Linked DNA regions of Homo sapiens: all the other regions are linked to region 4. The links are contacts of gene promoters, found by promoter capture Hi-C in blood cells and fetal thymus (Javierre and others, 2016). All regions are on one chromosome and are shown on one strand. Each heading gives the region's core, a stretch centred on a gene start or on the middle of the fragment in contact. The rest is flanking DNA. Distances are from core to core; before and after follow the strand shown. Region 1 overlaps NOD2 (nucleotide binding oligomerization domain containing 2). Region 2 overlaps CYLD (CYLD lysine 63 deubiquitinase). Region 3 overlaps ADCY7 (adenylate cyclase 7). Region 4 holds the start of NKD1 (NKD inhibitor of Wnt signaling pathway 1). Region 5 overlaps CYLD (CYLD lysine 63 deubiquitinase). Region 6 overlaps CYLD-AS1 (CYLD antisense RNA 1). Region 7 overlaps CYLD (CYLD lysine 63 deubiquitinase).

Evidence for each region. The method cuts DNA at HindIII sites, captures the fragments that hold promoters and counts their contacts. A CHiCAGO score of 5 or more calls a contact.
Region 1: a contact is called between a fragment that was not itself captured here and the fragment with the promoter of NKD1 in region 4, in 4 of 17 cell types (non-activated CD4 T cells, total CD4 T cells, naive CD4 T cells and 1 more). The highest score is 9.2, in non-activated CD4 T cells.
Region 2: a fragment that was not itself captured here is called in contact with the fragment with the promoter of NKD1 in region 4 in 7 of 17 cell types (non-activated CD4 T cells, activated CD4 T cells, total CD8 T cells and 4 more); the score reaches 9.2 in non-activated CD4 T cells.
Region 3: a fragment that was not itself captured here is called in contact with the fragment with the promoter of NKD1 in region 4 in 4 of 17 cell types (non-activated CD4 T cells, naive CD4 T cells, naive CD8 T cells and 1 more); the score reaches 6.9 in non-activated CD4 T cells.
Region 5: a fragment that was not itself captured here is called in contact with the fragment with the promoter of NKD1 in region 4 in 8 of 17 cell types (non-activated CD4 T cells, naive CD8 T cells, total CD4 T cells and 5 more); the score reaches 14.3 in non-activated CD4 T cells.
Region 6: a contact is called between a fragment that was not itself captured here and the fragment with the promoter of NKD1 in region 4, in 10 of 17 cell types (non-activated CD4 T cells, total B cells, naive CD8 T cells and 7 more). The highest score is 14.6, in non-activated CD4 T cells.
Region 7: a fragment that was not itself captured here is called in contact with the fragment with the promoter of NKD1 in region 4 in 9 of 17 cell types (non-activated CD4 T cells, activated CD4 T cells, naive CD4 T cells and 6 more); the score reaches 15.5 in non-activated CD4 T cells.

What each region holds. Positions count from the first base shown.
Region 1 is chr16:50,717,425-50,720,333 of GRCh38, forward strand. It overlaps NOD2 (nucleotide binding oligomerization domain containing 2), which reads left to right. Exons shown (of 12, transcript NM_001370466.1): 7 at 2,501-2,584. Among named protein-coding and RNA genes, the nearest start is that of CYLD, 23 kb to the right of the region's middle. The HindIII fragment of the contact is 3,105 bases long and covers 1-2,889 here.
Region 2 is chr16:50,776,714-50,779,904 of GRCh38, forward strand. CYLD (CYLD lysine 63 deubiquitinase) reads left to right here. Exons shown (of 19, transcript NM_001378743.1): 8 at 1,112-1,228; 9 at 2,952-3,191. Among named protein-coding and RNA genes, the nearest start is that of CYLD-AS2, 25 kb to the right of the region's middle. RefSeq lists a silencer at 1,733-1,892. The HindIII fragment of the contact is 3,496 bases long and covers 1-3,191 here.
Region 3 is chr16:50,317,101-50,320,324 of GRCh38, forward strand. It overlaps ADCY7 (adenylate cyclase 7), which reads left to right. Exons shown (of 26, transcript NM_001114.5): 26 at 1-1,035. BRD7 (bromodomain containing 7) reads right to left here. Exons shown (of 17, transcript NM_013263.5): 15 at 3,148-3,224; 16 at 2,787-2,930; 17 at 1-2,166. The coding sequence ends at 2,111. Among named protein-coding and RNA genes, the nearest start is that of MIR6771, 26 kb to the left of the region's middle. RefSeq lists an enhancer at 1,994-3,193. The HindIII fragment of the contact is 7,497 bases long and covers 1-3,224 here.
Region 4 is chr16:50,546,690-50,549,651 of GRCh38, forward strand. NKD1 (NKD inhibitor of Wnt signaling pathway 1) reads left to right here and starts at 1,707. Exons shown (of 10, transcript NM_033119.5): 1 at 1,707-1,889; 2 at 2,028-2,060; 3 at 2,733-2,866. The coding sequence starts at 1,865. RefSeq lists silencers at 1,350-1,799, 1,840-2,029. The HindIII fragment of the contact is 5,196 bases long and covers 1,300-2,962 here.
Region 5 is chr16:50,758,711-50,761,692 of GRCh38, forward strand. The region is part of intron 5 of CYLD (CYLD lysine 63 deubiquitinase); the gene reads left to right. Among named protein-coding and RNA genes, the nearest start is that of CYLD-AS1, 17 kb to the left of the region's middle. The HindIII fragment of the contact is 8,236 bases long and covers 1-2,982 here.
Region 6 is chr16:50,737,161-50,740,398 of GRCh38, forward strand. The region is part of intron 3 of CYLD-AS1 (CYLD antisense RNA 1); the gene reads right to left. Among named protein-coding and RNA genes, the nearest start is that of CYLD, 3.3 kb to the right of the region's middle. The HindIII fragment of the contact is 5,372 bases long and covers 1-3,238 here.
Region 7 is chr16:50,796,843-50,799,978 of GRCh38, forward strand. CYLD (CYLD lysine 63 deubiquitinase) reads left to right here. Exons shown (of 19, transcript NM_001378743.1): 19 at 1-3,136. The region is part of intron 2 of CYLD-AS2 (CYLD antisense RNA 2); the gene reads right to left. Among named protein-coding and RNA genes, the nearest start is that of CYLD-AS2, 4.9 kb to the right of the region's middle. The HindIII fragment of the contact is 3,258 bases long and covers 1-3,136 here.

The DNA of each region.
Region 1 (2,909 bases), core at 87-2,586, 170 kb after region 4:
TGCTACTCCAGTGTCTCCCAGTTTCAACAGGAGTCTCTCTCTCTCCTACCTGATGCCTTTAAATTGCCCCTCTAGCTGGCCGCTGGGTTGGCCTGGCTTCTCTCTCCTTCTCTCTCTCTCAGATATTCTTGCCTCCTGTGATTTGTGAGGCAGTAAAAAAAGACAAAGTAAAGAATTGCTTCCATCTATTCTTTTACCTCTTGGGCTGGGTTTGTGGATGGGAGCCGCCATTTTAAAATGGCGGGCCACATAGCTCAGTCTCGGCAAGGGCTACTGAGATCAGAACCACAGGTGCCAATTTGTACAAAGGACTCAGTCCTGCTACCACTGCCTGATCCCTCAGACTCACAAGCCTGGAATAGGCTGTGGCCAGACCTGGCTGGCCCATCCCTGAGAAGGGTGCTAGTTTCAGAAATGGAGGCTGAGTTTGTGGCCAACACAGTAGTCCTCCGGTATGTGCAGGAGAGATGTTCTAAGACCCCAGTGGATGCCTGAAACCATGGAGAGTATCAAGCCCTACACATACCATGCTTTTCCCAATACCTACACACCTGCAATAAAGTGTAGTTTATAAATTAGGCACAGTAAGAGAGTAATAGCAACTCATAATAAAATAGAACAATTATAACAATCAATGTACTATAATAACACTATGTGAATGTGGACTCTCTCCATCTCCCTCAAAATATCTTCTTGTACTGTACTCACCCTTCTTCTTGGGAAGATGTGTGGTGGTAAAATGCCTGTGTGATGGGAGGAAGTGAGGTGGATGACGCATGCAGCACTGTGCTCTAGCGCTGGGCTGCTGTTGACCTGACCACACTTCAGGAGGAGAATCATCTGCTCCCAGAGATCCCTAATCTTTGAGCAACAATGAGGTCGGCAGCTGGATGTCAGGAGCAGACGATCTTGATGATTACCAAATGGGAGCGTATAGAGCGTGGATGCGCTGGACGGGGGGCTGATTCACGTCCTGGGTGGGATGGAGCTGGATGGCACGTGATCAGAATAGCATGCAATTTAAAATGTATGAATTGTTTATCTCTAGAATTTTCCATTTAATATTTTTGGACTGCAGTTGATTTCAGATAACTGAAACCATAGAAGGCGAAGCTGCGGATAAGCAGGGGGCAGGGATTACCGTATATCATTGTAATAGAGAGCACAGGCTCTGGAGCCAGACTGCCCGAGGTTTGAACCCTCATTAGCTGCGTGACCTCAGGTCAGCCCAATGTCTGTGTGCCTCCGTTTCCCCTTCTGTAGAATGGAGGTAATAACCCTGGCTACCTCACAGGCTGTAGTGATGAGCAAGCAAGTTAATCCACATGAAGGGCTGCACCGTCTGGCAGGGGCTTTATATAGTAAGCGAGTGGCTGAAAGATGATGGGTAAATCACACAAGCACTCAGCTTGTTTCTCCTTATGTGAGTCCGGTCCTCCAAGCAGGGATTCAATGTGCCACCCATTTATTGGGGAAAAGTCCTAAAAGGGGAAGTGGGGAAGGGAGCTGGGGGAGGCTGGGAGGTGTGTCCCTGAGTGAAGGAGAGAGGGAAGGAAGGAAGGTTGAGACTGGGCACCTTGGACTTCAGTGCAGTCCTAAGACATCTTGGCAAGGCTGATGAGGAGTTCTTGAACCAAATTCACCAGGCAGGGGAGCCTGATGTCTCAGGCAGGGGCTGGCAAGTGCAGATGCGAGGATGTTAGATTTTGGAGCACAGCAGCTGGGGCCCTTGGCTACCTCCAAGGAGCTGAGGCTGGAGACCTGAAAGGCGAGTTCTCCTAGCTGCCACACCCCTTCTCCAAGGATACAATAATATCTGCCTTATAGGATTGTTGTGAGCTGAGTGGCTTGACGTTCCTTGAAAGAATGAAAGCGTATAGTTATCCCAGGAAGCCTAGGGTTGCAGGTGAGAGCTCTGGGGCTTCTCCGAAGCTCTCCGAGGTGTCTGGATTCAGTTGCAGCAGGAGCCTTCCTTGCTGGGATCTTCCCCCACCCCTAGCCTTGGCCCTCCCTCTCTCCTTCCTTTCTGGAAGGCTCAGTGGGCCCCACCCCTCCCTCCAGCCACCTGGACCTGCCCAGCGCTCTTGTGCAACAGGTAAAGCCTACCTGTAGCAACAACAGATCTGGGAAGGCTGCAGAGGGCACGATGGGGTCTGGATCGAGGGCGGCTGAGACCAGAGGGAAAGGTGTGACCCTGAGTCACCCTCGCTGTCCCGGGGAAACCACCTCCCAGGACAGCTGCCTACTGTGGCTCCTGCCTGGAATTGTCACACTGCTGTGCAAACAGCGTCCCGCTGCCCCTTTCCCTTTGCTGGGGGAAAATGAAGTTGTGGGAGCCGCTGAGTAAACTAGACCTAGCAGCGAGGGCACCTGATGTGGCTGCTGCCTCCCGGGCAGGTCTTCAATGCTTTCTTCCTGTGTTTCCCTGGCCAGGGCACAGACGGCCCTCCTTTTCTGCCTGCCGCTGTGTTCTCTCAGCCTCCTCTGTCTTCCCTTCCAGGCTGGGGAATAACTACATCACTGCCGCGGGAGCCCAAGTGCTGGCCGAGGGGCTCCGAGGCAACACCTCCTTGCAGTTCCTGGGGTAGGTTGGATTCCAGGAAGAGGGACCTGCATGGAGGGGCTTGGGACTTTTGAGGATTTAGGGGCAGGTGAAACTCTTCAGCCAGGAGGCCCCAGAGGCAGCCCAGCTCCAGTGGGGAGGACAAGCCAGGGAGAGAGTGGGCGGCCCTTGACTGCCACCTTCATACTTGGTCTATGCCTGACAAACAGGAAGTTTGGGATGTTGGGGCTAGGGGAGGACAGTGCCCACGAGCTGGTGACAGGAAGCCCTCTGATCCTCAGGGGGCGCTAGGGCTGTACTTTAGCTGCATATTAAAACCACCTGGAAGCTTCTAAACACTATTGCC
Region 2 (3,191 bases), core at 498-2,997, 230 kb after region 4:
GCTTCCTCACAATATGTGTGGAGCTTACAGCTCTTTTTTTTGTTAGCTTCCACATACTTCATAGATTTATAGAATAGTAGTTATACAAGCCAAAGAGCTCATTAAAAAGGCTCTGAGAATTTTTGTTAACTCAGATGCGAGTTAGGAAAAGAATATTTTTTCCTCAATTATTACAATTTTGGCTCATTTAAAAGGAAATTGTACTTTAAGAATTATTTTATGTGACATTGGGGCCTGGGAGACTTAGGATTAATTGCAGGATATATAGGTAACAGTCTTTTTTATGTTAACCTATAGATCTATATAGGATAGCTCAAACTTGCTACTCTCACTTAAATAGAAACAGACTAAAGATTTTCTTAAGCTATGGCATGTTAATTGTATTGTAGTAGATCTTAAAGTTATAAAATGTACAGCTACCTGCTTTAATTTGAAAAGGGAAATCAGCTTTTTTGTGGGTTCTGGAGAGCCCACTGCCCTCCACTGTGTGTGGTATGTCCTTGAATTAATACTGAGGCAGGGTAATGTCATGAAATGGCTGTGGCATAGCTACACTCGCCCTCTCACGTATAATAAATCCAATCTGTAAGAAATAATAGTGCTTGATTTTTTCAAAGACACAAGGAATTTGATGACCAAAAATTCCAAAATGTTTAAAACTTAACTATTTTTAAATGTAATTTGTGTATTGATTTATATATAGAATTTGAGGATTACCTTCTTTTAAAATAATAGGTTAAATTTGTGAACCAATGGGTCTATGAAATGAAGCTGGAGAATGGTGATTTTGACATTTAGAAATAAGCTGTGGTACATGGAACAATTTCTTAAAGCAGTTCATTTTTTTTAAAAATGAGTGGGCTTTTCTTTTAACTTACTCCTGTTTCCCTCCTATCTTGACTTTTGGGCTGAAAAATATTTTTAATATTGTCAAAATGGTTACCAAATTTTTAAAAGCTGAAGACAGTTAAAAAACATATTGTGTTTATATACATTTATTGGTTATGTAAACAGTTATTAACATCATATTCATAATAATTTCTCTTACTAAAAAAAAACTTTGATGCTATATTGACTTTATTTTTAAATGAAACTTTTCTTGTTCCTATAGGATCTACCTCAGACCCTGGAAATAGAAACAGATCTGAATTATTTTATACCTTAAATGGGTCTTCTGTTGACTCACAACCACAATCCAAATCAAAAAATACATGGTACATTGATGAAGGTAATCAGTAATTTTAGTGTTCTTTATAATGATCCTTTCTTTCTAACTCATCAGAGAAAAATGGTTTTTTATATCAATATTTGTAGTTTTTGGAAACAGAATAAGTAGACCGCTCTTTGTAATATTGCTGAACTAAAATATTGTACACAGTTTGAACCGTACTGCTGTTAAGATTATTAAAATGTTTAAGAAATGTATTAGTAATTTGTTCTTTTCCTTTAACTGCTGATCTATTTAGGGTGGAAGATTTCTGTCTGGTTCCTTCCTGACCTCTTTAAAGCACTCCCTTTTAAAAAATTTTATCTTCCCTTGGTCCTGGGACATCATTTTCACCTAGTTTATTCTCTTCTTTGTTCATTTGTTCAACAAATATTTATTGAGTGCTTATGATTGCCAGGCATTCTTTTAGGCATCAAGATGAAAATGGTGAGAAAAAATAGACATGGTTCATGCCCTTTGTGAGTTTGCAGTTGTTAAGTTGTTGAGATAGAAATTAGTCAAACAACCACAGACACAGTAGAGTTGCCTTGGTGGTGTGTGCAGTGAAGGTGCATGATGCTGTGAGAATACACCAAAGATGATTTTTCTCAGGGTCTTAGGGGTGTTTCTTTGGGGCAGTGACACATGCTTAGGTTTACCAGAGGAGTGACAGATGACAAAGTGAAAGGGGCTAGAACTTCCTCGGGAGAAGAAATAGCATAGGGAAAGTCCTCCTGGAAGAATGGAAGCTAGTGTTTGCCAGGGACTAGAACACAGACAGAGGCATGACATTCATGAGATGAGAATGGAAAGGCAAACAGGCCTGACTCTGTGGTCTCCCAGCCTTTAGAGTTTTGCCTGCCACATTTGTTTTTAAGGCACCTGGAGCTGATTTTCATGTAAAGTATGAGTAGGATTCCTGTTTAATTTTTTTTTAAAAATATGGATAACCAATTATCTCAACAGCATTTAGTAAGAAGTTCATTCTTTTGTCATTGATCTGCAATACCTGCCTGTCAGCTGTATTAGTCATTTTAAGAAAATAGCTTTTGGCTGTGGCTCTCTTTATCATGTGTTTGGTTTCTCTTAAATTACATTCTGTGTTTGTGTTTATTCTGGCTTTGAACTTCTTATTGTATGTTTGTTTTCTCTCTTCTGTTGTTTCTGTTCTTTAGTTTATTCTTCTCTACTTTTTTGAGGGTTATTCTGTTCTTTTAACTTCCCAAGTTGTATGCTGAGTTCATATTTAGCTTTTGTTTTTTTCTGAAATAAGCAATGAAGTCTATAAAATTCCCTTATAAGTATTAATTTAGCCATGTTTCACAAGGATTCTTTCTTTCTTTGTTACTTTTTCTCTCTTTTTTCTTTATTGTTAAAACGTATTATTTCTTTTTTGATCCATTAGATATATAGAAGCGTTTCTTAAGGTTTTCGGTATCTTTTTGTACTGCCTTCTCAATTAATTGTATTTTGGACAAAGACTATCACGTATACGATACCCGCTGATAATAGATTTTTTTGGTTTGAACAGTTGGGTGCCATTGACTGAGGTGCATAAATATGGAGGTGGAGAGAGGAGCGAGAACACTGTTGGAGATAATAACTTTGTGATGCCTATGAGAGTACTATTAATAGCAGGGAGGTCAGGTGGGCAGTTGGACTAGATCTGTATATAAATTTTTAGAAATGTAAGACAGAGTCAATATCCTTGAATACATTTCTGTAATTAGGAATAATTTTTTAGTTGCAGAAGACCCTGCAAAATCTCTTACAGAGATATCTACAGACTTTGACCGTTCTTCACCACCACTCCAGCCTCCTCCTGTGAACTCACTGACCACCGAGAACAGATTCCACTCTTTACCATTCAGTCTCACCAAGATGCCCAATACCAATGGAAGTATTGGCCACAGTCCACTTTCTCTGTCAGCCCAGTCTGTAATGGAAGAGCTAAACACTGCACCCGTCCAAGAGAGTCCACCCT
Region 3 (3,224 bases), core at 362-2,861, 230 kb before region 4:
GTGTCGTGTGGCTTTATCAGCCCGAGGAAGGGCAGGTGTATTCTAATTTGCACAAAGGTGCTGGGTAGACTAGTGGCAGCTCTCATGTGCTGCACATAAGTGGAATCAGTATGAATAGAAGAACTTGCTGTATAAAGGAATTTCATGGCAACAATGCTGGTAAGGGCAATTAGCCTCGCTTAAGTTGCCTTTTTTACACACCAAAACTTTTTACATGAAGGGCTGGTTTCACATGAATACTATACTGAAATCTGTGCTCTCAAGATCTAGCAGTGACCAGGGCTGCCCGGCGGGGGCTCTCCTGGCAAGTCAGGAAGGTTTCTGTTGCTAATATAACATAGAAACACATTAGTGCACTGGGCCTCTCTGAGGTCAGCATATTTGTACTCTTGGAATATTTGTTTTTTTCTTCAGTAACAACAGAAACCCCAGTTGGGAGTTTAACAAATAACTGACTACCACTCACTCATGCATTTTTATTTCCAATTAAAGCAAAGCACTGTGCTGTGCTCAGATAATAATAGTTTGTAAGTAAAAGTTTTTAGTTTTCAGTGTTCAGGTTATAGAATATAACTGACCATAAAAATTACCTGCAGGTATTTTCTTTTTATGAACTTGTTTTTAAATTACCAAGTAATTACTGGTGTCATTTTGTTTTATGACAGACACACGTATCTAACAAACAAACAAACAGTGACCTTCTCCATGGGTCAAGGACTTCCTTACAATTTCTCCTGAGTTAACTTTTGTGAAAATAATACCTAAGGTTTTCTGGCTTATTGAGGAAATTTCCTAACAAACAAACAAACAAACAAACAGAAGAGAAGATCATTAACCACTGTATACTTTGTGTATATAATAGGTCAGTGTAAAGAAATATGATTTGAGGTGGTGCATGCAAGTAACTAGGGTTTATTCTATATAATGAATATTTATAGATCTGTAACATTTGTTTCAAAATGCTGTTTCATTTTTATAAAGTACCAGTGTTTAGCTGCTTTTTATACATTAAATTAGCAATTTGAAAAACTCAAATATCTGAAGGTATTTTATTTTCGTGGTCCTCATGAACTCACTAGAGATTAAAAGTAGACTCAAACAACTTGAAAATTTGACTCTTTTAGCATAAGATTTTAAGTCTTTTGAGGGAATTAATTTTCCTTTACCCTATTTGTTCTTCCTAAATACTAATTAATTTTCAAAGTCAGGAAAATAATAGAAATCAAATGGCTTCCTGCCTGGGTGATTTATAGAAGGATTGTATAAGGGCCTTCAAACTTAATTTGTTCACTGAACAAGGCTATCTATCTATCTATCTCCATCCTGATTTTTTTCCCTTGTGTATAACAGGTTCTATACCGATTCAGCAAAATCACCATTTATCTCAGCTTGCTGATAAAAGGGGGCCATGAATCTTGTGGTCTCCTACTTAGAGTTCAACTCCTTGGGTACTTGACCTTTGTATTTCAGATAAACAGTAAGTAAAGTAGAAATGTCACCTTTTGGTAATCTGGTAATTCCCTGATCTATTCAAGGATGACTTAGTTTATCTTATTTGGCTTATTACTTTGCTATAGTACTAAGTAACTCCTCTTTCTTTAAAAAACGGAAAAAACCAAAAAAGAACACTAGCCATGTGACAGTGCTATAAAACTCCCAGTGTGCTTTTGTCAGGGGTGGGTGGGAGGTGCCTAATTACCCATACAAGGGCATCATTCCCACTGGGTATGCAGGGGCAGAACCACAGTAGTAAATTCTAAAATTATTTCAAGTATGTTCGTATAACGGAAAATCTCACTGGATGGGGCCGTTTTAAGAACGCTTCTTAGTGATGATCCTGTCTGTGGGACATAAGGAAGAAGCATTGGAAGGCACTATTTTGAAAGAATGCTGCACAGGTATGGCAACAGCCCCAAGCACATTCCTTCCTCACGAGTCCCAGGTCCAGCTTTATTACCTAATACAAGTCCAACCTCTGGAACATCCAAATTCGCTGTTCCAAAGTTTAATTAAAAACACAATTTACAAATATTTAATATCTTCTGAAAAGCATTTCTAAGTTAAGAATGAAAAAGTATGTACATAATATATAATCAAATACCAGGCAGCCTCAACTTCCACCAGGTCCACACTCAGCAACATCCGTCTTTTTAGGTTCTTCAGTGTCTGAAAGAAAAAGACATCACTTAATTCAACATTGTTTTTACCTTTTAATTAAAAAGGGGACATGAAAGTCAAGCTGCCATCCAGAAGCATAACTGCTGAGAGCCCTTCTTCACCACATCCAAGGCTGAAGACTACGCGCATTATCAGGTGATCATTGTGGCTCTTCTGCACACAGGAAATCTTTATTAATTCTTTAGACAAGATAAAAAGAAAACTAAGAGTAGTTTATACATTAAAAACAGATAAATGTTCCTTTTACAGTTGACCCTTCTTATCCATGGGTTCCACATCTGCAGATTCAACCAACTGCCAATTAAAAATATTTGGGGAAAAAACCCAATTAAAAAAATACAACAAACAATGAAAAAAATATAAAAAATACAGTCTATTAACTACATTCTATGAAGTATATAAGTAGAGATGATTTGAAGTATACTGGAGGTTGTGTGTAGGGTATAGGCAAATACCTTTTATGTTAGGGACTTGAGCATCTACAGATTTTGCTATCTTTGTGGGGTAAATACCAAATCCGAGGTCCTGATACCAATCTCGGGCAGACACTGAGGGATGACTATAGTCACCATAGCTTTCTGCTTTCCCAGAGAAAACAGGGCACGTACCTTCTGTCAAATCCACAAAGTTGTTTTCCATGACGGGGGAAGGAATGGAAATCCCCATTGCTTTTCGAACTCCATACGTGCTTACGATATCACCTGGAGTTACTTGCTGTGCAAGTTCTTTAAGATTATTGGTCACTTGTTCAGCTAAAAAGAAAAACAAAGTTCCAGATACTAAAGCATGGTTCCTTTAGATAGAGGCATCCCAAAGAACAGTAAATGTACACATGCAAAGAAAACAAAACAAAAAAACTGTCCCTGGGATTCACATCAGCATTACTCTATAGTGGCATCACCACTGTACTCAAGAAGTTTTTTCTTTGAAGCATCCCGTGACTCTCCTCTTATGGGAGGCAAAACATACCAAGATGCATTTCTCTGTATGAGGGACCCAAGAGACAGATCATGTTCGGAGGGGGTCTGGTGCTCAAACGTTCATTC
Region 4 (2,962 bases), core at 457-2,956:
TGTCCTTTTGAGACATGTAGATCTTCCAGAGCGATGCTGCCCAATGCAGTAGCCACTAGCCAAGTGCAAATGGTCACTTGCAATATGGCTAGTCTTTGAGATGTGTTTTAAGTGTAAAATACACACTGAATTTTAAAGACTTAGCGCAATACAAAGAATGTAAAATATCTCATTATATCTTGAAATTATACTATTTTGGATATATGGTGTTCCCTTGGTGTCTTTGGGGACTGGTTCCAGGATCCTAGAGGATACCCAAATCCCCAGATGTCAAGTCCGCTATATAAAATGTCCTGTAGTATTTGCATATAACCTACACACATCCTTCTGAATACTTTAAATCATCTCTAGATTCCTTGTAATTCCTAATACAATGTAAATGTTATGTAAATAGTTGTTATACTATATTAAAAAGTTTTTTATTCTTTATTTTTGCTGTATTATTCTTTTTGCATATTTTCAGTCCACAGATGGTTGATGCCACAGATGTGGAACCTGTGAATAAGGAGGGCTGACTGTATTGAGTTAAGCGAAATATATTATTAATATTTCATCTATTTCTTTTTACTTCTAAAAGATGTGGCGACAAGAAAATTTAAAATTACAAATGTGGCCCACATTATATTTCTATTGGGCAGTGCTGCTCTAGAGAGTCGGCAAAAAGGGCAGAATGGAGCCTCCATTATACAGATCACAAAACTGAGCACAGGTAATTCACTCCAAAGGTCGGGGCTGGTCTCACTCTGAGCTGCGGGTTTTCTTTTCCCACGCCAGAGCTGCCTGGTGCCAGGACGAGCGTAACACGGACCCACAGTGTCCCCAGAAGGGGGCAGGCGTTCTGAGAGCCACAAAGGTGGGGTGGAATCCCTTGATGTCGACCGCCACCATCCCCCTCCCCCCGCGCGACCTCCCCGCAGAGACCTCCCCAGACAAAACAAACAAACCCTTGGGTCTGGCGAACTGCAGCGGGGAGCGGAAACCAAGGAAGATCAAAGACTCAGCGGTTACCCCCTTCCGGGCCGCGCAGTTTGGCAGCGCGCCCCGACCCGGGCGGGCACCCACGGGCCCCCGGACGAGGAGATCCCAGAGACTGGCTGATAACGGGGCGCTTTGGACATTTGTCGCTGCCTGGAGAGGGCTGGGCTCACACTGGCCCGGGGTGCGCTGGGGGCTCCTCCTGGACTCCCCAAATAAGAAACTAGAGGAGTGCGGTGGTGGGGGGCGGGTCACGGGGCGGGTAATGAACACTTTCTGCAGAAGGTAGGTCGTGGGAAGACTGGGAAAAGGCAGCGCTGCCGAAGCTTGCACCTGAGCAGCTAAGGTCTCCGCTCCCGACCTCAGTTTCCCCACCTGTAAATTGGAGCCGCCGAGTCCCGCCCTGCCCGTTTAGAGAGAACGTGGAGCGGAGGGAAGTGACAGTACAGTTAGCGATGGCCGGGCTGTTCTGTCCCAATACGCCTCCTGGACAAGCCGCCCCGCCGGGTCGCCAGCCCTGGAGCTCGGCCCCCGGCCCCAGACCGCGGCAGGGAGCGCGGACTGTGTCCCGCCCCTCCCGTCAGCGCCCCGCCCTCGTCCCCGCCCTGCCCCGCCTCCGGCCCCGCCCCCGCCGCAACCAGCCTTGCCTTTGATGCGCCGCACCGGCCAATGGGCGCGCGGGGAGGCGCGGGCCGCGGCGGCGGGCTGGGGGCTCGGCGCTCCCGGGCGTCAGTCGGGCCGCGGCGACGGCGGCAGGAGCGCGTCCCGGCGCCGCCTCGGGCTCCGCTCGGCTCGGGGGCTGCTTCGGGAGGAGGAGAGCCAAGGGAGGCGCCAGGCCCGCGGGCCGGGCGCATGGCTTAGGGACGCTCCCGGCCGCCGCAGCCCCAGCATGGGGAAACTTCACTCCAAGCCGGGTCAGTGCCCCCGCCCGCGCGCTCGCCCCGGGCCCCGCCGCCGTCGCCGCCGCGGTCGCTAACTCTCTCCCTTCCTTTCTTTCCTTCTCCCGCCGCCGCGGCTGCCGCCGCCGCCGCCGCCTCGCGATGTGCCTGCAGCCGCCGTGTGCAAGCGCAGGGAGAGCCCGGAAGGTAGGGGCGCGCGGGGCGCAGACCTCGGGGATGGACGCGGGGGACACCGCGGCCGCGGCAGAACGGCCCAGCCCGCCAGGTCTTATGACCAGGGCCACCCCGAAGCCCCAGTTCCGGCCACCGGCCCCCCAAGCCCGCTCCCTGAGCAGCCTTCGCGCCCCCTCCTCTGTCCCTCCTACCCGCTCCCCGCGGTCCTGCGCTCCCACCGCTGACCCTCAACCCCTCCCCCTCCCGCGTCCCTGCCCTCGGCTCTCACGGCACCCTCTCTTCAGACCCCCAAGCGCCTCCCCGCAAGACCCTGCCCCCTCTTCCTGCCCCCCGGCCCTTCTTCCGATATCCTGGCTCCTGCACCTACTGCGGCCCCTCTCCTGACCCCCAGCCCTCTCCTCCGCAGTCCTGGCTGCCAGTGCTCCCTGGTCTGATCCTAAACCCGTCCTCCTGGGGTACTGCTCACCCCTCTTGCCCCCTTCTGGCTCCTCGCTCCTAGGGCTTCGCTGAACCCCCCTTTACTTACCCGCGTCCCTCTCTTGGCTCCTGCCCCAGCCCGCGAACCCCCTCCTGGCCCCCGTGCCGTGGTCCTTCGCCTCCCACCGCGCCTCCTTCTTCCCTCCGCGGGGGTAACTTTTGGCACCTGGAGCCAGACTCAGGGGCTTCATGTCGTCCCCGTCCCAGGTGACAGCTTCGCCGTGAGCGCTGCCTGGGCTCGGAAGGGCATCGAGGAGTGGATCGGGAGACAGCGCTGCCCGGGCGGTGTCTCGGGACCCCGACAGCTGCGGTTGGCGGGCACCATAGGCCGAAGCACCCGGGTATGATTCCCCACCCCTGCCCCACCTCCTGGCCTCCTTTCAGCCTCAGAGATGGGTCCCCAAACCCATGCACCCCAACTTTGAGCACTTTCCTGC
Region 5 (2,982 bases), core at 222-2,721, 210 kb after region 4:
GATTCCAAGGTTTGGACTGAGCAACTGGTAGGCTGGAGAGGCAATTTACCCAGGTGGGAAAGACAACAGGAAGAGCATGCGTCGGGGAGTGGGAGTTGGAAGTCAGGATCTTGGTTTTGATCATGTTAAAATTGAGTTAGCTATTAAACAATTTCATTTGAATGTTTATGTTAATATTATACGAATTCATGTTTAATCCTTAAAAATGGGCAATGTGCTCATCATTTTCATATTTAAGAAACTTTTGGCTGGGTGCAGTGGCTTATTCCTGTAATCTCAGCACTTTAGGAAGCCGAAGTGGGCAGATCACGTGAGGTCAGGAGTTCGAGACCAGCTTGGCCAACATGGCGAACCCCCCCGTCTCTACTAAAAATACAAAAATTAGCCAGGCGTGGTGGCGGTCACCTGTAGTCCCAGCTACTCAGGAGGCTGAGGCCAGGAGAATCGCTTGAACCTGGGAGGTGGAGGTTGCAGTGAGCTGAGATTGTGCCATTGCACTCCAACCTGGGTGACAGAGCGAGACTCCATCTCAAAAAAGAAACTTTTTACTGTAGAATGTATTTGCAAAAGTATATATAACAACATATATTAAGAATAATAATGAACACTCATGAAACTGACCATCTAGGTTAAGAAACAGAACATTAGAAGTACCTTGAAAACCACCTGCAATACCTTGTTTTCATTATAATTGCAATCTCTCCCTAGAGGTGACCATTATTCTGATTTTTTCATTAATTATTTCCTTGCTTTTTATAATTTAATTATATCTCTGTAGCTAAACAATATACTGTTTAGCCTGCTTTTGAACTTAATGTAGTTAAAATCTTACTGATTTTTAAATTACTTGCATCATTTACTTAAAATGTATTTTGAGATTCTTTTCTGTGGATGAGGGCATTAGTAGTTTGTTCACTCTCACTGCTTCATAGTATATTTCGTCATGTGACTATCCCACAGTTTGGTGCCCATTGTAATATTAATGGACGCTTGGGTTTTAGGTTGTTTCCACCTCCTTTTCCACACTTGGTACTGATTAAAATTTTTGCCAGCCTGACAGCTGAGAAATGGTATCTCAAGGTGGTTTAAAAGTTTGTAGTTCCCTGATTACAAGTAGGATTGAACAGCCTTTTATATGTTTATACAACATTTGTGTCTTCTATTAAACACGTATTTTTTGCCTGTTTTTCTGTTGAGTTGCTCATTTATTGATTCATGAGTTCTCTAGTTTTAGAATTTTAATAAAACATCTTTTAATGTTTTGTTATGACATTTTAAACAGAAAAACTGAAAATTTTATATTGAGCATCCTTATGCATATCATCTAGATCCTACAATCAACATCTTACTTGCTTTATATGTATCTGTCCACCTCTCTATTCACGTACTTATCCGTCACGTTTTCTTGTGCATTTCACATTAAGTTGCAGATACCAGTTCACTTCCTCCTAAATACTTCAGTGTGCATCTAATTAACTAGAGATAAGTATTTAGGGTTTTCTTTTTCATTTCAGATAGAAGTCACACATATAATGACATACATATGGATTTATTTGGGTTCTAACTAATATATATATACCCTTGAATTAGAAACCTCTATCAAGTTATTAAAACAATTTTAAGAAGAAATCATTCATGTATCTCAAATCAAAATTAAAAAGTACAATAAAATATCTCATTTCCATTTTTATCCCCTCTGCCTCAGTTGCCTGCTTACTCCATCCTTCGTTTCTCACTAGTCACAGTTTTTATGAATTTCTTATATATCTTTCCAGTGTTTCTTTATACAATATAAATATTCTTATTCCCCCTTCCCTTTTAATTCAAGAAGTGTAGTAGATACACTATTCTGCTGTTTGCTTTATTCTCTTAATTTTATATGTTAGAACTCTTTGTATATTTGCAAACAGAGGTTCTTGTTTTTTATAGTGTATAATTTTCCATTGTACGGAAAAAAATTTCATAATTTATTTAACCAGTTTCCTATCAATGGACATTTGGGTTGTTTCTGACTTTTTGATATTGCACACAATGTTACCGTAACCTGTACATGTCTGTTTCCCACATGTGCTAGCATATCTGGAGGATATATATATTCCCAGAAGTGGAGTTGCTTGATGAAAGGGCGTATGCGTTGGTATTGTTCTGGATATTGTTAATTGCCTTCAGTCGTAGATATAACAATTTATATTCCTGCCAGTAGAATACAAGGGGGAACTTATAGCTTTCCCATGAGAGTGTGTTACTAACTTTTTTCCCAATCTGATAGATAAAAAATATATTTCAGTGTATATAATACATTTGCAAATAGAAATTTGCATTTCTCTGAGTGATGTTGAACATTTTTGCATATGATTAAGGGCAATTTTTCTTTCTGTGAACTGTTTGCATCTGTTGCCTATTTTTAAATTGGGTTAGGTTATTGGCCTTTTTTCTCACTGATTTCTTCATGTGTTAGGGTGGCAAACTCTTCTGTGATGCGAGATGCAAATGTTGCCCACTCTTCCACCCTCATTTGTCATTTGTCTTTTTTTAAAATTGCTTATTTTTCTGGTCACCCTCATTTGTTTTTATTGTGGTAAAATATACCTAACAGGATGTACCATTTTAACAATTTTTAAGTGTATAATTCAGTGTAAGTATGTTTACAGTTGTGCAACCATCACCACTATCTATTTCCAGAAATCTTGTTCATTATCCCAAATAGAAACTCTATACTCATGAAGAGATAGCTGCCGGTTCCTCTTTCCCTCCAGCCTCTGCTCATCTCTGTTCTCTGCTCTCTGTCCTTATGACTTTGCTTACTCTGGGTATCTCATATTAGTGGAATCATACATATGTCCTTTGGAGCTGGTGCATTTCACTTGGTGTGATGTTTTTGACTTTGGTGCTTTTTGCCTTGCAGGATTTATAAAATTTTTATGCTGTTGTATTCTTTTAGTTTTAATAGATTCTGGATTTTGAGTTACTGTAAGGTTATAA
Region 6 (3,238 bases), core at 520-3,019, 190 kb after region 4:
ACCCTCCAGGACTTCTTGTTGGTGCAGGGTAAAAGGTAAGGTCTCATCTGACTTGGACCCCCTGTATCCTCTCTGGCCTCCCCTTTGCCACTCACACCTGTTCTCTGGGCTCCAACCTCACTGGCTTCTTTGCTGTTCCCTGAGCATACCAGGCACATTGCTGAGGACACCAGGCACATTGCTGCTTCCAGACCTCTGCACTCGCCTTTCCCCTCCTATGGGAACACTGTTCCCTGAGACAGTGGTGTGGTTGGCTTCTTCATTTCCTTCCAGTCTTAGTTCAAATGCCACCTACATGAGGTAGTCCTTCCCTGAACAATCTACCTAAATAGCAGTTTCCAGCCACTGCCTGCCTTCCTTTGTATTGTCTTCTCTGCATGAACTACCTGATGCATGGTCATTTTTCCCCTCCCCTAGAATGTCAGCTTCTTGAGAACAGGAACCACGCTCACTGCAGTGTCCTCAGAGTCTACAAAGGTGCCTAGCACATAGTAGGTGCTCAATACATATTTGTTGAATGAAGGAAGGATCCACTTTCTTTATTAAAGGGGGCAGAAAATAGAAGTTGGGGCAGCTTATAAGAATGAGTCACCCTTTTTCTGACATCATTTGTGTCTCCTTGGTAAAGGAGGAAGATTCCCTGGGACATGGAACAATCCCTAATGCATCAACTGCCCAAAATGGGATCCAGATGTAGCAGAAAGTTCCCTTTAATAAAGAGCTTTCTGTGTGTGTTTTAAAAATCAAACATAGAAATTATTTGTCATTGATACCAGCAAATAGCTCAAATGGGAGAGCATGGATTTATAGTTCGGCTGGATTAGTTTAAAGATGATTAAAGTAATCCCCTTTATCTTATCAAAAAGAGCTTTTAGGTGGTCAGAGTAAAAGTCCTCAGACAGAATGTTCAGTTGCACTTGGAATTTCCCTTCCCTAAGAGATAAGCACATCTCAGAGATGGAAGACCTCAGCCCGTTATCCATGGATCAAAACACTGTGCTGGGCTACTGTGGAGAAAGCGCCTGTGACGTATCCTTGCTTGTGCGGATACCTGGTCCAGTTAGCCACTTGGCCTGGTGTTCATTCTGAATGCCCATATTCACAGGATTAGTGGGAAAATGGCTGGAACCATGGGAGGTTGGATGGACATCTGGGAGTTGCCATTTACTAAGATGGGGAGTGCAGAGGGATTGCAGGGGGTGGTGGTGGTGAATATCAGGAGTTCGCTTTTGGCTGTGTTGAGTGGAGATGCTGAGAAGGCAGTAGGATATAAAAGAGACACCAAATTTGGAGAGACTGCAAGTAGGAGGTACCCCGTGGTAGGCACTGGGAAGCATGGAGCAGGGTCTAGTCAATAATCATGACCGGTGCCACTGAGCAGGTTCCCTTGAGTCCTGACGGTGTGTTACTCTATGTCCCATGCCCCTAGCAGGCTACCTGGAGTTCACCGTCCTCCGTGGGGAAAGCTCCATTCAATTCAATAGCTTTATGTTAGGGTCCCGCTGTGTGCAATGAGAGAACTACATAAGACAGCTTAGAATCAGTGTTAGGTCAGGCACAGTGGCTCATGCCTGTAATCCCAGCACTTTGGGAGGCAAAAGCAGGAGGATCACTTGAAGCCAGGAGTTCAAGACCAGCCTGGGCAACATGGTGAGACCCTCATCTCTACTCAAAAGAGAAAAGTTAGCTGGGCATGGTGGTGCGTACCTGTAGTCTCAGCTGCTCAGGAGACTGAGGTGGGAGGATCACTTGAGCCCAGGAGACGGGGGCTGCAGTGAGCTATGATTGTGCCACTGTACTCCAGCCTAGGCAACAGAGTGAGACCCCATCTCAAACAAAAAACAAAAAACAAAAAAAGAACCAGTGTTATGTTCCCTGCAAAACCCTTCACAACTTCCCATTGCTCTTGGGATGGAGAACAACCCCTGTCCTTGGCTCCCAAGGCTCTTTTGTGCCTTCATTGTCTGCGCTCTGCCTCTTCCAGTTTCTTCAACAGGTCATGCACTTTCCTGTTTCCTATTTCTGGAGTGTTCCCCCTCACTCCTGCCTGCCAGTTATCTTTCCCATCTCATCTCAAAGGTGACTTCCTCAAACAGGCCTTCCCTGAGTGGCCAACCTCCCTTTAGGCATGCTCAGAGAGATTCTTCTTCTGAGGCTTACCACAGCCATAATTAAGTAAGTGATCATCTAATGAGTATTTTAGTTTGCCTTTTTTTTTTTTTTTTTTTTTGCCAGAGGGAGTGTGGCATCTCTCTTGTACACTGCTATGTTTCCTGGAACCTGCTCAGTAACACAACCGCTAGTTCCATGAACCCAGGACCAGGCTGGATGGAAGAGGCTGTGGGGTGGTGGATTGAGAGAGGTCATTAGTGAGGGCTGGAGCCCTCTGTGAAGACATGTCTGTAAAGGACTTTGACTAGGTCCTCCATGAAGGGAGGATTTGGAAGGCAGAGATGATGAGCATTTCAGTTGGGGAATCCATTTTAACAGAGGTGGAAAGAGTCTTGGCTTGGAATCAGGGTCTCGGCCCATCTCCTGAGTGACAGGGGCTTGTAATTTACTGTCTTTGGGCCTTCATCTACTACCTGTAAAATGAGAGGCTGGTTCACCAAGGACTGCAAATAATAGCACCATGACACTATCTCCCCATCTTATCCCCTGGCAGATATCTCTCTTCCCGGTGAGCCTGAATATAAGTTCAGAATTAGCTTTAACGCAATGTTCTAAGCAGCCATTCCCAATTGATAGGAAATGATAATTGAGATAAGCCCCATTTGTCAGGCTTGACTTGGATGAAGATCCCTTAGATGAAGTCAGGCCCCGGCACTGATTCAGTGAACGTATGACAGGACAGAGCCTGGGGACGAAAGCCCTATGGAAGTAGAGACCTCAGCAGCACCAAACACCATCAACAGAAAGGACACAAAAATAGGCCGGGCACATTGGCTCATGCCTGTAATCCCAGCACTTTGGGAGGCTGACGCAGGCAGATCACTTGAGGTCAGGAGTTTGAGACCAGCCTGGTCAATATGGTGAAACCTTGTCTCTACTAAAAATACAAAAATTAGCTGGGTGTGGTGGCAGGCACCTGTAATCCCAGCTACTTGGGAGGCTGAGGCAGGAGAATTGCTTGAACCTGGGAGGCGGAGGTTGCAGTGAGCTGAGATCGCACCATTGCACTCCAGCCTAGGCAACAGAGCAAGACTCTGTCTCAAAACAAAGAAACAAACAAACAAAC
Region 7 (3,136 bases), core at 301-2,800, 250 kb after region 4:
AGTCCATTGAGAATGTAAATAAATGTGTCTTCTTTATGGACCAAGGATATGAAATCATTTTTCTTTTGTAGCTAACGGTTGCCTTGAGGAAGAAATAATTTGGTTTTATTAAGAGTCTACTCTCAATCCAGTTATTAGAGATGTACTGAGTTTGATTTGTTAATCCTTTCTATATACTGCTGATCTTGCATGTCTACAATCTGCTCAGTTTTTCTGTGTTTCTGCAATAGTGGTCAGAAAAATACTTAAATTCCCTTAATGGTGTTGTTTTCTATTTGTTCTGGTTTTGAGATAAATGAGTGATTCTGTCCCCAAATGTCCATTTTTGAAGTGATTTTCCTGGAGGATTAGGGTATTTAGCAGTTGAAGCTCTTCATTCATAGTAGTTACTGTCAGCTAACAGGTTTTTTAAGGCTTTTAACTATTAATATTTTATGGAATGGGGCAAAGTAAATTGATGAAAGAATTGGAGTGATAATAGTCCTTTACAAACATACAGTCCATAAGAAAATGAATTTGGCATATAGAATTATTACAATTTCCTGGGAGAGATGGATATTTAAACCTCTATTATTTTAGACAAGACTGTCTAGAACTTAAGTTTGATCTGTCAGCCAGTACTCCCATTAAATTCAGTGTAGTTTCACTTGATAGAATCAGATATGTTATCGAAATGTTAGCAGCAGCTTCATCCTCCTTCTGATTAAAGTAAGTAGAAATGGGATGTTTTGTTTAATAACAGCCATAGTGTGTGTTTAGACCACAGCGGATGTTGTAGACCAGGACCATAGATGATACATGTCAGTGCTGTGGAATGTGCATTCTCTGAGTGTTGTTTTGTGGTATCATTGTCTTTCCTGAATGACTTTCTAACTGTGCAGAAAGGCAGAAAAGTCATCATATGTATATGTCATATGACTTTATAAAATATTTAATGTGACAAAAAGTGGAAAGAATCTTTACAAACCCTGCAATTACTTTTTTAAAGGCACTTTTACTCTTTGGTTTTATCATTCCATTTTGCTAATATTTACTAGCTTTATAAATTACAGTAAGGTACAAAAACTCATCTTGTAATATTTTCATTTTTGAAGTGAAAAAGTACATATATTTTGCACAAGGTTTTATACTGCTAAGTGCTTGGTTGGGGTGGTGAGATGATGATTAGATCAGGGGTGAGGCTGAGAGACTCTGGGTTTAGGGCTAGCCCTGCCTCCATCTCCCTTGGGTAAAATGAAGGGTGTGGGGTAAAAGATGCATAAGGCCTTTTCTAGCTCTGACAGCCTAGAAGTCCAATCACCCTGTAATAAATATGTGTTGAATGAAGAAATGGGTGAATGAGCTTGTCAATGTGATTTTAAAAAATTGACTACCTGGAGGAATGATTAGGAATCTAAATGAAGCCAGCCCTCGGTATCTGCAGGTTTCTCATCCATGGATTCAACCAACTGCAAATGGAAAATACGATTTTTTTTAAAAAAAGGATGGTTACATCCGTATTGAACATGTACAGACTTTTTTCTTGTCATTATTCTCTGAACAATACAAGAACTCTTTATGTAGCATTTACATTTATTAGGTATTATAAGTAATCTAGAGATTATTTAATTAAAATATACAGGAGGATGTGTGTCAGTTATATGCAAATTCTGTACCATTTTGTATCAGGGAATTGAGCATCTTCAGATGTTGGTATCTGCAGGGATCCTGGAACCAAACCCCTGCAGATACTAAGGGCTGACGATCTAGGTAAGACTGGATTTAACAGTTGGAAAAAAAAAAAAAAAAGGAGAGAGAAGACAGTTCCTTTCCTGTAGAAATTAAAACAAAATACAAATTGAGGAAGCTCTGCTACCCAGGCTGTCATGGTAGAGAACTTGAAGAAGACCTGTTTGGATGGACACCTGGTTTCAAAAGTCAGGTGTGGAGACTGTTAAATGGGAGGGCCTCATCCATAAATGATTTCTGGCAACGTCTTCTTCAGGTGGAGCTTGACGTCTTTTTAATGTTACTTGGGGAGGGAGTGCTCATTAAGGGATGCCAGGGCCAGCTCTGGTGGTTCCTGGGGAGGCTGCGTCCTTCCCTGCTTCTGCATGTCATGAGGCAGCAGGAAGGTTTCCCCTGCACCTGTCTGTCCTGGCTCCCTCTGGGTAGCCCCCTACTGTTCTGTGCTTCAGCACAGCCTGGTTTGTCAAGAGGCACATAGTTGGGGCTGGGCTGCATGGCACAGGGGCTTATGTGCCTGCTGGTTATTTAATTTTCAGCCTTAAGTTTTCTTTAATATTTTCCTGTTGGCTATTTAAAGGTTTTGGTTATCTTTTATTCCTTATCTACAATCAAGATGACAATGTAATTGAATTATCTTATTTATAACACGGTTCGTGATTCATGATTCATGATTACAAGTAGAAAATATGTCATGTTCCTCACCTCCAAATAAATATGTGTGTGTCTGTGTGTGTGTATATATGTATGTGGCGGAGAGGGAGAGAGTGGGGAAGGAGAGCAGTGTTATCATACATAGAGAGGCTAAATGTGTCCCATCCCTCACTGTCAGCTTTATAAAGGAGTTTGACTCCATCCACAGAAGAATGTTTTATAAGACTAGGAAAACACGTTGAAAACTAGGATAAACAGCAACAAAAATCAACTAAATATGTTGTTACTGTTGCTAAGGATTTTCTCCTTAGAATAATTTAGGATTTTTAAAAATTTCTGTTTGCCAAATGCTGTAGATAAATGGCCAGATTCTTCCTATCCCTAGGATTCCTTTATTATTTTTTTTCACAGATTTTGAGAACAAGGGGGAGAGATAGTATGGAAGATTAAGATTCCATTAATCTTATAGAACTGTGTTGTCACCCAAATTCCTGCTTGTTTGAACATGGCATCTTCATAGATTCAGGATTCACTACCCTCTATAGCTGGATCTTGAAAATTATCTGGCCAGATAATTTTGCATCTGCTTGGATGATTGTAGACTGAGATGTGAGTGGAGGATAAAGTATTAGACTTTTGCTGAGTAACTGCCAACCAAGAAGTATTTATCGGACACTTACTAGGTGCCTAGGATTGTATCAGAGGGAATATGAAATGTGTCCCTGCCCTACCTAGTTTTAACGACAGAATATCTATT